Linked DNA regions of Homo sapiens: regions 1 and 3 are each linked to region 2. Evidence: promoter capture Hi-C in human tissues and cell types (Jung and others, 2019). All regions are on one chromosome and are shown on one strand. Each heading gives the region's core, a stretch centred on a gene start or on the middle of the fragment in contact. The rest is flanking DNA. Distances are from core to core; before and after follow the strand shown.

The links. Contacts are between HindIII fragments. The study calls those that stand out against the background at their distance.
Region 1: a fragment that was not itself captured here is called in contact with the fragment with the promoter of COPS4 in region 2 in 1 of the 25 tissues and cell types used here (dorsolateral prefrontal cortex).
Region 3: a contact is called between a fragment that was not itself captured here and the fragment with the promoter of COPS4 in region 2, in 1 of the 25 tissues and cell types used here (spleen).

Annotation. Positions count from the first base shown.
Region 1 is chr4:82,732,954-82,736,315 of GRCh38, reverse strand. All of the region lies in intron 1 of SCD5 (stearoyl-CoA desaturase 5), which reads left to right. Among named protein-coding and RNA genes, the nearest start is that of MIR575, 19 kb to the left of the region's middle. The HindIII fragment of the contact is 5,915 bases long and covers 1-3,362 here.
Region 2 is chr4:83,033,500-83,036,484 of GRCh38, reverse strand. It overlaps COPS4 (COP9 signalosome subunit 4), which reads right to left and starts at 1,302. Exons shown (of 10, transcript NM_016129.3): 1 at 1,187-1,302. The coding sequence starts at 1,260. RefSeq lists enhancers at 813-872, 414-919, 933-992, 1,033-1,082, 1,183-1,532 and 2 more. The HindIII fragment of the contact is 7,675 bases long and covers 1-2,985 here.
Region 3 is chr4:83,403,598-83,406,843 of GRCh38, reverse strand. No RefSeq gene overlaps it. Among named protein-coding and RNA genes, the nearest start is that of HELQ, 51 kb to the left of the region's middle. The HindIII fragment of the contact is 4,594 bases long and covers 1-3,246 here.

The sequences.
Region 1 (3,362 bases), core at 698-3,197, 300 kb after region 2:
TTTTTTTTTTGTTTTGTTTTGTTTTTTCTTAGACAGGGTCTTGCTCTGTCACCCAGGCTGGATGCAGTGACACAATCTTGTCTCACTGCAACTCCTGCCTCCTGGGCTCAAGTGATCGTCCCACCTCAGCCTCCAGAGTAGCTGGGACTACAGGCACATGCCACCACACCCTGCTAATTTTTTAATACTTTTTGTAGAGATGGTGTTTCGCTATGTTGCCCAGGCTGGTCTCGAACTCCTGGGATCAAGTGATCTGCCCACCTTGGTCTCCTAAAGTGCTGGAATTGCAGGCCTGAGCCACTGTGCGTGGCCAAGAATAATAAATTTGTGTGTTATAAAAACAAATAGAAAGGCTGATATAAAATACAGTAAGTCCTCACTTAACATCATTGACAAGTTCTTGGAAACTGTGACTTTAAGTGAAACGATGGATAATGAAACCAGTTTAACCACGGGCTAATTGATATGAATACAGAACTAAATTCCTACGACATATTTCTAGTCAAGGAAACATCACCACATTTCTAGATTAAGACCCAAAACACTTCTATTAAAAATGGAAATAACTGTGAGCTATACATGCATTTCGGTAATAAAAACAAGTAAGATAATTTTTTACCCAGTCTTTGGTGAATCGGTGAGTGACAGCAGTCATGTGGTGGGTAAGTCAAGGAATAAGTGTTTGCAATGAGAAAATTGTCAGGAGCCCCCCCTTCCACCATGCAGTTGAAAAACGAGCAGTAACGAATGTGGCGGCTCCTTGAGCGCTTTCGCACTGCGTCGTTTATTGTCGTGTATCTGTAGGATTATTCACTACTTTACAAATTTTTATTTTACTGTAATTTGTATCCATTTATTACCCAACCCGCTTATTGCACTTCAGGGTGGGAGGTAGCCAGAGCCTATCCCCAGCAACTCAAGGCACAAGGTGGTACCCAACCTTGGACAGGACACCATCCCACCATAGGGCCCACACATTCACACACACACAGTCATTCAGATCTGGACCGTGTAGACACGCCAATCAACCTAATGTACAACACACATCTTTGGGATGTGGGAGGAAACCAGAGTACCCAGAGAAAACCCATACAGACATGGGGAGAACTTGCAAACCGCACAGACAGTGGCCTCGGCTGGGAATCAATTTTCAAAAATCTCATCAACATTGTAACAAAACCATGTTGATCAAAATGACACTTTTTTGAGGACCTGCTATAATGCTAAATGAAAAATTGTTGAGCTCAGGCTGGGCGTGGTGGCTCACACCTGTAATCCCAGCACTTTGGGAGGCTGAGGTGGGCAGATTGCCTGAGCTCAGGAGTTCGAGACCAGCCTGGGCAACATGATGAAACCCCATCTCTACTAAAAAAAGTACAAAAAATTAGCTGGGCATGGTGGCACACACCTGTAATCCCAGCACTCTGGGAGGCTGAGGCACAAGAATTGCTTGAGCCCGGGAGGCAGAGGTTGCAGTGAGCCGAGAACGTGCCACTGCACTCCAGCCTGGGCAATAAAGTGAGACCCTGTCTCAAAAAAAAAAAAAAAATTGAGCTCAACTTTATAAATATTGACTATAGGCTTGTTTTAAAAAAAAAGCCCAAGCAACAATACAGCTAAAAAGAGATAATTTGTTACATGGCAGGATGAGAAGTTAATTTGATTTTTCTGTTGCTTTGATGTTTTGTATTTATCTCTCATTACAAAATTGGTTAAAAGCACAATTTTAAAGACTGCAATATATATTGTTAAACATCAAGGACAGAAAAAAGGTAAACCCTTACATCTCCTTTATGTGGTTTCTCACAGCTGTGCAGATCTGAAACACAAGCTAGAATAGCACAAAAACTGCATCTCGGAGCTGCACAAATTTCCTCGATTATACGTAGAGGAAAAGTGTGATTACCAAGAGCTTTGAGTGGATGTCGGAGAAAGTCATGTTGGGTTAACTGTCTGGTTGGCTCATCCGATGACAGAGCTTTACCTACTTGGATCTGATGCTGGGATTGTTTTGTTTGGTTTGGGTTTCTTTGGAAGTGAGGGAGGCCAGTATGGGATACAGGAAAGAGGGAAAGCATTGACTCCTTTCCACTAGTAAGCATTTGCCTCCTTCATCAAGCCAGTGCCACATTTCTGCATCCTTCGGCTTCCTTCTTCTGGTCTGATCCTTCTTGCCCCATAAGCTTGGCATTCTCTGATGGTTATTTTTGCTGTGTTATCTACCTCTAACAGCAACAGTAATCTTAATAAAATATAGTCTCACATTTCCTCCAAGTAGCTAGACGTTCTTAAGGCTTTAGACACAGCCTTCATTGTATGTAATAGTGGCCATTTTTCTTTTTGTCCTTGCACCTGTGTAAGCAGGGCACTAAATCTTGTAGGTCTCACCCTGATTTGCCTCTTTGCAGCAGCAAGGACACCTGAGTCTCTGTACTTTGACATAGATTTCTGCTTACATCGGGCAGTTCTGAGTCAGAGGGTGGTGGGCCTGAGTCACCACCATCTGCTTTCATCAACCATGTTCCCGAGACCCAGAGTGGGGAGATTCCCATGGCCCCATTCAGGCACGTACAGAGGCTTCATGAGCATGTGCTTCCCTAGCAGAGGCGAGAATGGCGCAGGGACCCTTGTGAATTTTTACTGGAGAAATTGTTACGGAATTCTCAGGCTCTTGTTTCCAAATTCTTTCTTCCCTCTCTTCTCTTTCCCATATTTTTCTTTTTCCCCCTCCACACATTAGAAGGCTTCAAGATAATAAGGTAATATTTATTGGGGACATGATGTGTATCAGGCACACTTATGCATATTAACCTATTTAATCTTCACAACCACCCTATGAGGTAGGTGGGCACAGCTATTATCCTCATTTTACAGCCAATGAAATAGGCAGAGAGGGTAACTTCTCCAAGCTCACTACATGGGAGAAGCAAGCTTCACACCCAAGCAGTTGGCCCAGAGTGCAGGCTGTGGGCCACTGTGCTCTGTGCATCGTAACAGGGCACCAGAGCTAGCTTGCCTGTGCTCTGGGGAGGGGGCTGATGTGAAAGAGACCAAAGCTAGAGTGAAGAGTGAGGTGTGGGAGTGCATGCTGGTGGTGTGTGGGGCGTGTGCGTGGAGAGCCTGACCTGTTTTCCTGTCGTCCTGTCATTTACTCTGTGAGTACGCCCAGTTACTTAACCTCTTTGCTTCTCAGTTCCCTAGTTCATAAAATTCCAGGAATATGAATAGCGCTTAACCCCTCATAGGGTTGTTGTGATGATTAACTGTGTTAATAAAGTCCCTAGGACAGTGGCTGGTCCATGAATGTTAGCCATTATCATCAGCATCATCATTAATTTGGGAACCACTCCACCTCCTCTTTC
Region 2 (2,985 bases), core at 53-2,552:
GCTGAATTTCCCACTGATAAAAGTAGATTACGTTTGCCACCAGAGAAAAGGCAGCCTAGCCTACTTAAAACAGTCAGAATTTCAATGACCAGGTTAGAACAGGTGTATCCCATTAATATACATCAAAGTGATTTCAGCTGTCAGGATGTAAACATTAAGATCAACTTGAGAGGCATACTTTATTTACTTATTTATTTACGGAGACGGGTGGCGGCGGGGGGGGGGGTCTCACTATGTTGCCCAGGCTGGTCTAGAACTCCTGCCCTCAAGTGATCCTCCCTCTCAGATCTCTCAGGCCTCAAGTGATCTCAGCCTCTCAAAGTGCTGGGATTACAGGCGTGAGCCACTGCACCCGGCCTAGAGAGGCATACTTTAAACAGAAAGCATGTTCATTACAAAAGAGAAATGCTGTGACATCTACAAAGAGAAAATGAACAATATACGTCTACCTACCTATGCTTAATACTGTTGACAACTGCTTGCAGAACAGGCACGTCACACATTTTAACTTGGAGTGAACCTAAGCATTCTATATAAATTTCGACAAAATTCAGATTCCTGCAAACATCACTACTGTAGACATCCTGACCCACGATATGAGCACATTCCGCCTATGTGCCATCAGAGTTGGTGGCAGAGAAAATACCCGAAACACAAGGACCCACAGAAGACAGTCTGAATGGTCTGGACGACATGACAGCGGCCATACCGCCTCAACCTCAGCCAGCCCCAAGAAGCCATCTCCCCGAAAAACGCAGCATCAAGGCCCCAGAATATACATTTCTCTGAATCAAAAAAAAAGAGGAGGAAGGTCCAAAGAGAGGCCAGATTCGGTGTGAGGCCGGCCAGCGATGGGAAGAGGTACCAGGGAAGGCTACTAAGGCCAGGGTAGCAGTCGTCTCTCAGACCGCTGTTCCAAAATCCTAAGGGACCAGAAAGATTCTATCAAGAACTGAACAAGCTGACAATCATTTCAAGTCTATAGCCTCGAAGGCCCCTGCACAAGGTCCCCTCCAGCTTTCTGCTTCTCCCAACATTTGCCTCCCCAGCCGACCTCAGGCCCGCCCCCTTGGACGTCAGGCCGGCTCCTAGCTTCACGCCCAAGAGCCGTGGCCAACCTAAGGAGATTAAGGCTGTGGCTTTCTTTCCCCACCTCTGTACTCCCGCGTTCCTGGGAAATACTCACTTGCCAGCCAGATCTTTATGAGAGCCGCTCGAATTCATGAGCTGGGCCAAATCCTGTCGCACGGCTGCCGCCATCTTTCTCCCAGCTCAGCGGTGGATGCGGGGGCCTCTGGCAGCCAAAAAGAAAACGAGTGTGGTCCTCCAGAGTGCAGCCAGAGGGAACCTGAGATGCTACAGAGTAGCGTCTGTGTGGGCCAGAGCGTCGGGTGTGGGAGCCTGGGCTAGCTCCGCCCCCAGGGTTGAGTGATGCGGAGCTCCACTCCTCAGGTCTGAGGCCTGCCCAGGTCTCTCCTACAGGCTCTGGCTCTCACGCTTGGACTTTGGATTGGCTGATGAACTCCAGTAGTGAGTCTCTGGTGTAACTCCAATGAGTAGCCGGTACATAAAACGACTGCGTTTTCGCAAAGTTCCGTTTCTCACGTCTGTGGTTTACCGTCCTTCGATCTTTCAGGCAGCGCTTAAACTGCCTGTGGTAAAGAATGAGTTTTGTTTCCGATTCACCACAGAAGATACTTTTTAGAAATACAATTAAAATGTCCCTATTCCTCCTCCCACTCCGTGCACTTTATAATGGTTGGTCAGACATTCCAGTTTGTCCAGTACAAAGCGATTTTCCCTCTGTCGTCCTGGAGTAATGATTAATATCCCCCCTTTCGGCCGGGCGCGGTGGCTCACGCCTGTAATCCCAGCACTTTGGGCAGCCGAGGCGGGCGGATCACGAGGTCAAGAGATCGAGGCCATCCTGGCTAACACGGTGAAACCCCGTTCTCTACTAAAAATACAAAAAAATTAGCCGGGCGTAGGTGGTGCACCCCTGTAGTCCCAGCAACTCGGGAGGCTGAGGCAGGAGAATGGCGTGAACCCGGGAGGCGGAGTTTGCAGTGAGCCGAGATCGCGCCACTGCACTCCAGCCTGGGAGACACAGCGAGACTCGGTCTCAAAAAATAATAATAATAATAATAACATCCTCCCTTTCATTCTAGAAACCGTTCCATTTCAATGGAAGATTATATGGTCGCCTGCGTTTGTATAACATTCAATACTCATGTATTCTTATAGAATTTCTGCAAATACAAGCAAATATTAATAAAATAAAATTTTACCTCTCACAAGCAACACCACATAATTGTTCTGCCTTGGTTTTTTTTTTTTGCACTTTTCCTGGTACTGTGGTTTGAAATAATTGTCTTCTCCAAAACTCATGTTGAGGGCTGGCGCCGTGGCTCACGTCTGTAATCCCAGCACTTTGGGAGGCCGAGGTGGACGGATCACCTGAGGTCGGGAGTTCGAGACCAGCCTGACCAACATGGAGAAACCCCGTCTCAACTAAAAATACAAAAATTAGCTGGGTGTGGTGGCACGTGCCTGTAATCTCAGCTACTCGGGAGGCTGAGGCACGAGAATCACTTGAAGCTGGAAGGCGAAGGTTACGGTGAGCCAAGATTGCACCACTGCACTCCAGCCTGGGCAACAAGAGGGAAATTCCGTCTCAAAAAAAAAAAAAAAAACAAACAACTCATGTTGAAACTTCATCTTTAATGTGGCAGTATTTAGAGGTGGGCCTTAAATAGGTGATTGGATCATGAGGGCAAAACCCTTGATCTATTCATGGATTAATGGGTTGTCATGGGAGAGAACATGTGGCTTTATTAGAAGAGGAAGAGACCTGAGCTAGCATGTTAGGAAGGTCACTCCCTTGCCATGTGATACCCTGTGCTGCTTCTGAACTCTAGCAAGTCCCCACCAGCAAGAAGGGTCTCATTAGATGTGGCCCCTTGACCTTAGACTTCTTGGCCTTCA
Region 3 (3,246 bases), core at 211-2,710, 370 kb before region 2:
CACACTTCACTGCACGAAGTAGGAATCTCAGAGAAGAATGAATACTACCCACAATTAACAATTGGAAGCTTTTCTTTAAACACAATTTAAATATTGCCTCTCCCTTTTCACAATCATAGCTCAAATGTAGATGACACTAGTGCAAGAAAGAAAGTGTTAACTAGCAATATTTATGAGTACTGAACTTGTTTGATTAATGATTAACCCACCTAAGAAACATCCTTTGGAAACTTTGCAATAGATCCATAGTCTAAGTTATTTGTGCCTTAACATTTTAGGCCATTATAATCTGCTAGTCATTTACCTAGAGTACTAGGTAAATACACAGAAAATATCTATGTGCCAGGAACTCTTGTAAGTGCTTTATATGAATTAACTAATTTAATTCTTATATTACCTGTACCTGTAAGACAGGTACTATTATTATCCTCATTTTACAGATGAATAAACTGACACACAGAGAAACTAAAGTAACTTTCCCAAGGTCATAAACTAGTTAGTCACAGAGCGAGGATTCAGACCCATGCAGCCCCAGTGTAACATCCACACACTTAATCATTATACAATAGTGTCTTGGTAAATTTGTCCATTTTATTCCTTCCTAAGTGTTCCTTACACCTGTCCTTGATTTTATCTTTAGCATTACATTCCATCATGCTTGCCCCACTCCCATCCCTGCATTTCCTTACATATGTCAAAGTATGGCATCCTAATGTCCTAGTAGAATTCTGGGCTTCGCCGCACATGTTACATTTGTTGCAGCTAAAAAGATTGTGAAACAGCAGCTGGCTAGCCTGCTGGCTGTTTGGACCAGCCTCTGAGTTGCATTCACAATGGGCCATAGTCCAGTCTTGAGGATTTTTTTAAAGTCTAGAAACCCCAGGTTTACTAGTTAAGTAAAGCTCTGATTCTTTTTTTTTTTTTTTTTTTTTTTTTGAGATGTTAGGGTCTTGCTTTGTCACCTAGTTCGAGGCTCACTCCCGGGCTCAAGTGATTTTCCCACCTCAGCCTCCCAAGTAGCTGGGACTACAGGTGCGTGTCACCGCCCAGCTAATTTTTGTAGAGAAGGAATTTTGCCATGTTGCCCATGCTGTTCTCAAACTCCTGGGCTCAAGTGATCTGCCCGTCTTGGCCCCCAAAGTGGTGGGATTATAGACGTGAGCCACTGTGCCAGGCCAAAGGTCTGATTCTTGCTAACCAATTTGTAAAAAACTGATTTATAATCCAAGATTAATGTATTAATTTAAGATTAGAGGTGAGGGGGCAGGGAGAAGGGTACCTTTACAGTAACTTGAATACCTGTATCTGCAGTTCAGGACAATCTACACACACACACACACACACACACACACACACACACACACACTCTTCTATCAGTGTTTCTCCAGGTCAATCTCAATAAAAGATTGTATCACGTGTAATGGTGGGTGATTAGCCCTAAAAGATATTAAAATGTAAAGAAACTGAAACAGTTTAGTTCTAGAGAAGTAGATAAGTGGGAAGGAACAAAGTGGGGAATAGAAACAGACCTAAATATGTTTAAGAATTTAATGTAATAGACTGGGCAAGGTGGCTCATGCCTGTAATCCCAGCAATTTGGGAGGCCGAGGTGGGAAGATTGCCTGAGTTCAGTAGTTTGAGACCAGCCTGGGCAACATGGCAAAACCCCGTCTCTACTAAAAATACAAAAAATTAGCCTGGCGTGGTGGCACATGCCTGTAGTCCCAGCTACTCGGGAGACTGAGGCACGAGAATCATTTGAACCCGGGAGGCAGAGGAGGCAGTGAGCCGAGATGGCACCACTGCACTCCAACCTGGGCGACAGAACAAGACTCCATCTCAAAAAAAAAATAGTAATAATAATAAACATGGTTTTTCAGTTTTTAGTAATAGAAATGCAAGCATATGTAGCTTAAGCGAAAAGGGACATTTAGTGGCCATGCTCTCAAACAGTAGGCAGCAATAGAATTGGCCTTAGGGCAGTTAGAACCAGAGAATCCTAACACCGTCCATACTCACCATCTCTTCTTTGTGGGGCAGCACCAGACTTGCTTCCTTATGGCTTCAAGATGAAAGCAAAAAGAGCTCTCTGCTGTCAACTCTAGTTAGAAAAATCCCCAGGAAGGGTTCTCATTAGTCCCTTGTGGGTCCATTTCTCACCCCTATGAGCAGGATATAGGGTTTAGGTTTGGGTTTTGGTTCTTCAGAAGACAGAGAAGTGGGGTAAGCAGAGAAAACAGCTAATACAGATGACACTTCAAGTCACAGTGGAAAAGATGGATAACTCAGTGAATGGAATTGAGACAAATGGCTACCACGCCATTTAGAAAAATATTAAGCTTAGCGTGGACAGCATGGCAAGACCCCGTCTCTACAAAAAATTAAAAAATTAGCTAGGCTTGGTGGCGCATACTTGTGGTCCCAGCTCCTTAGGAGGCTGTGGTGGGAGGATCACTTGAGCCTGGGAGTATGAGGCTAGAGTGAGCTGAGATCACATGCTACTGCACTCCAGCCTGGGCAATAGAGCAAGACCCTCTCTCTCTCTCTCTACATATATGTATATTGAGCACTCTATCTATAATATATATTTTATATTATAAATATAAATAGAGAGCTGATTTCTAGCTATTGCTTTAAACCAAATTAAACTTTAGGCAAATCAAAGATTCAAATGTGGAATTTTTGAAGGTGTCATCTGACTATGCTGAAGCATCAAAGAATGTATCTGCAGTTTCTTCTTATAAGGCTTTAAAACAGTAAAATGTCAGTAATTCCAGTGTGGTGTCAGGTTTTATTATTTTTTCTTTTTTTTTTAATTATGCTTTAACTTTTAGGGTACATGTGCACAACGTGCAGGTTAATTACATATGTATACATGTGCCATACTGGTGTGCTGCACCCATCAACTCATCATTTAACATTAGGTATATCTCCTAATGCTATCCCTCCCCACTTCCCCAACCCCACAACAGGCCCCGGTGTGTGATGTTCCCCTTCCTGTGTCCATGTGTTCTCATTGTTCAATTCCCACCTATGAGTGAGAACATGCGGTGTTTGGTTTTTTGTCCTTGCGATAGTTTGCTGAGAATGATGGTTTCCATCTTCATCCATGTCCCTACAAAGGACATGAACTCATCATTTTTTATGGCTGCGTAGTATTGCATGGTGTATATGTGCCACATTTTCTTAATCCAGGCTATCATTGTTGGACATTTGGCTTGGCTCCAAGTCTTTGCTATTGTGAAT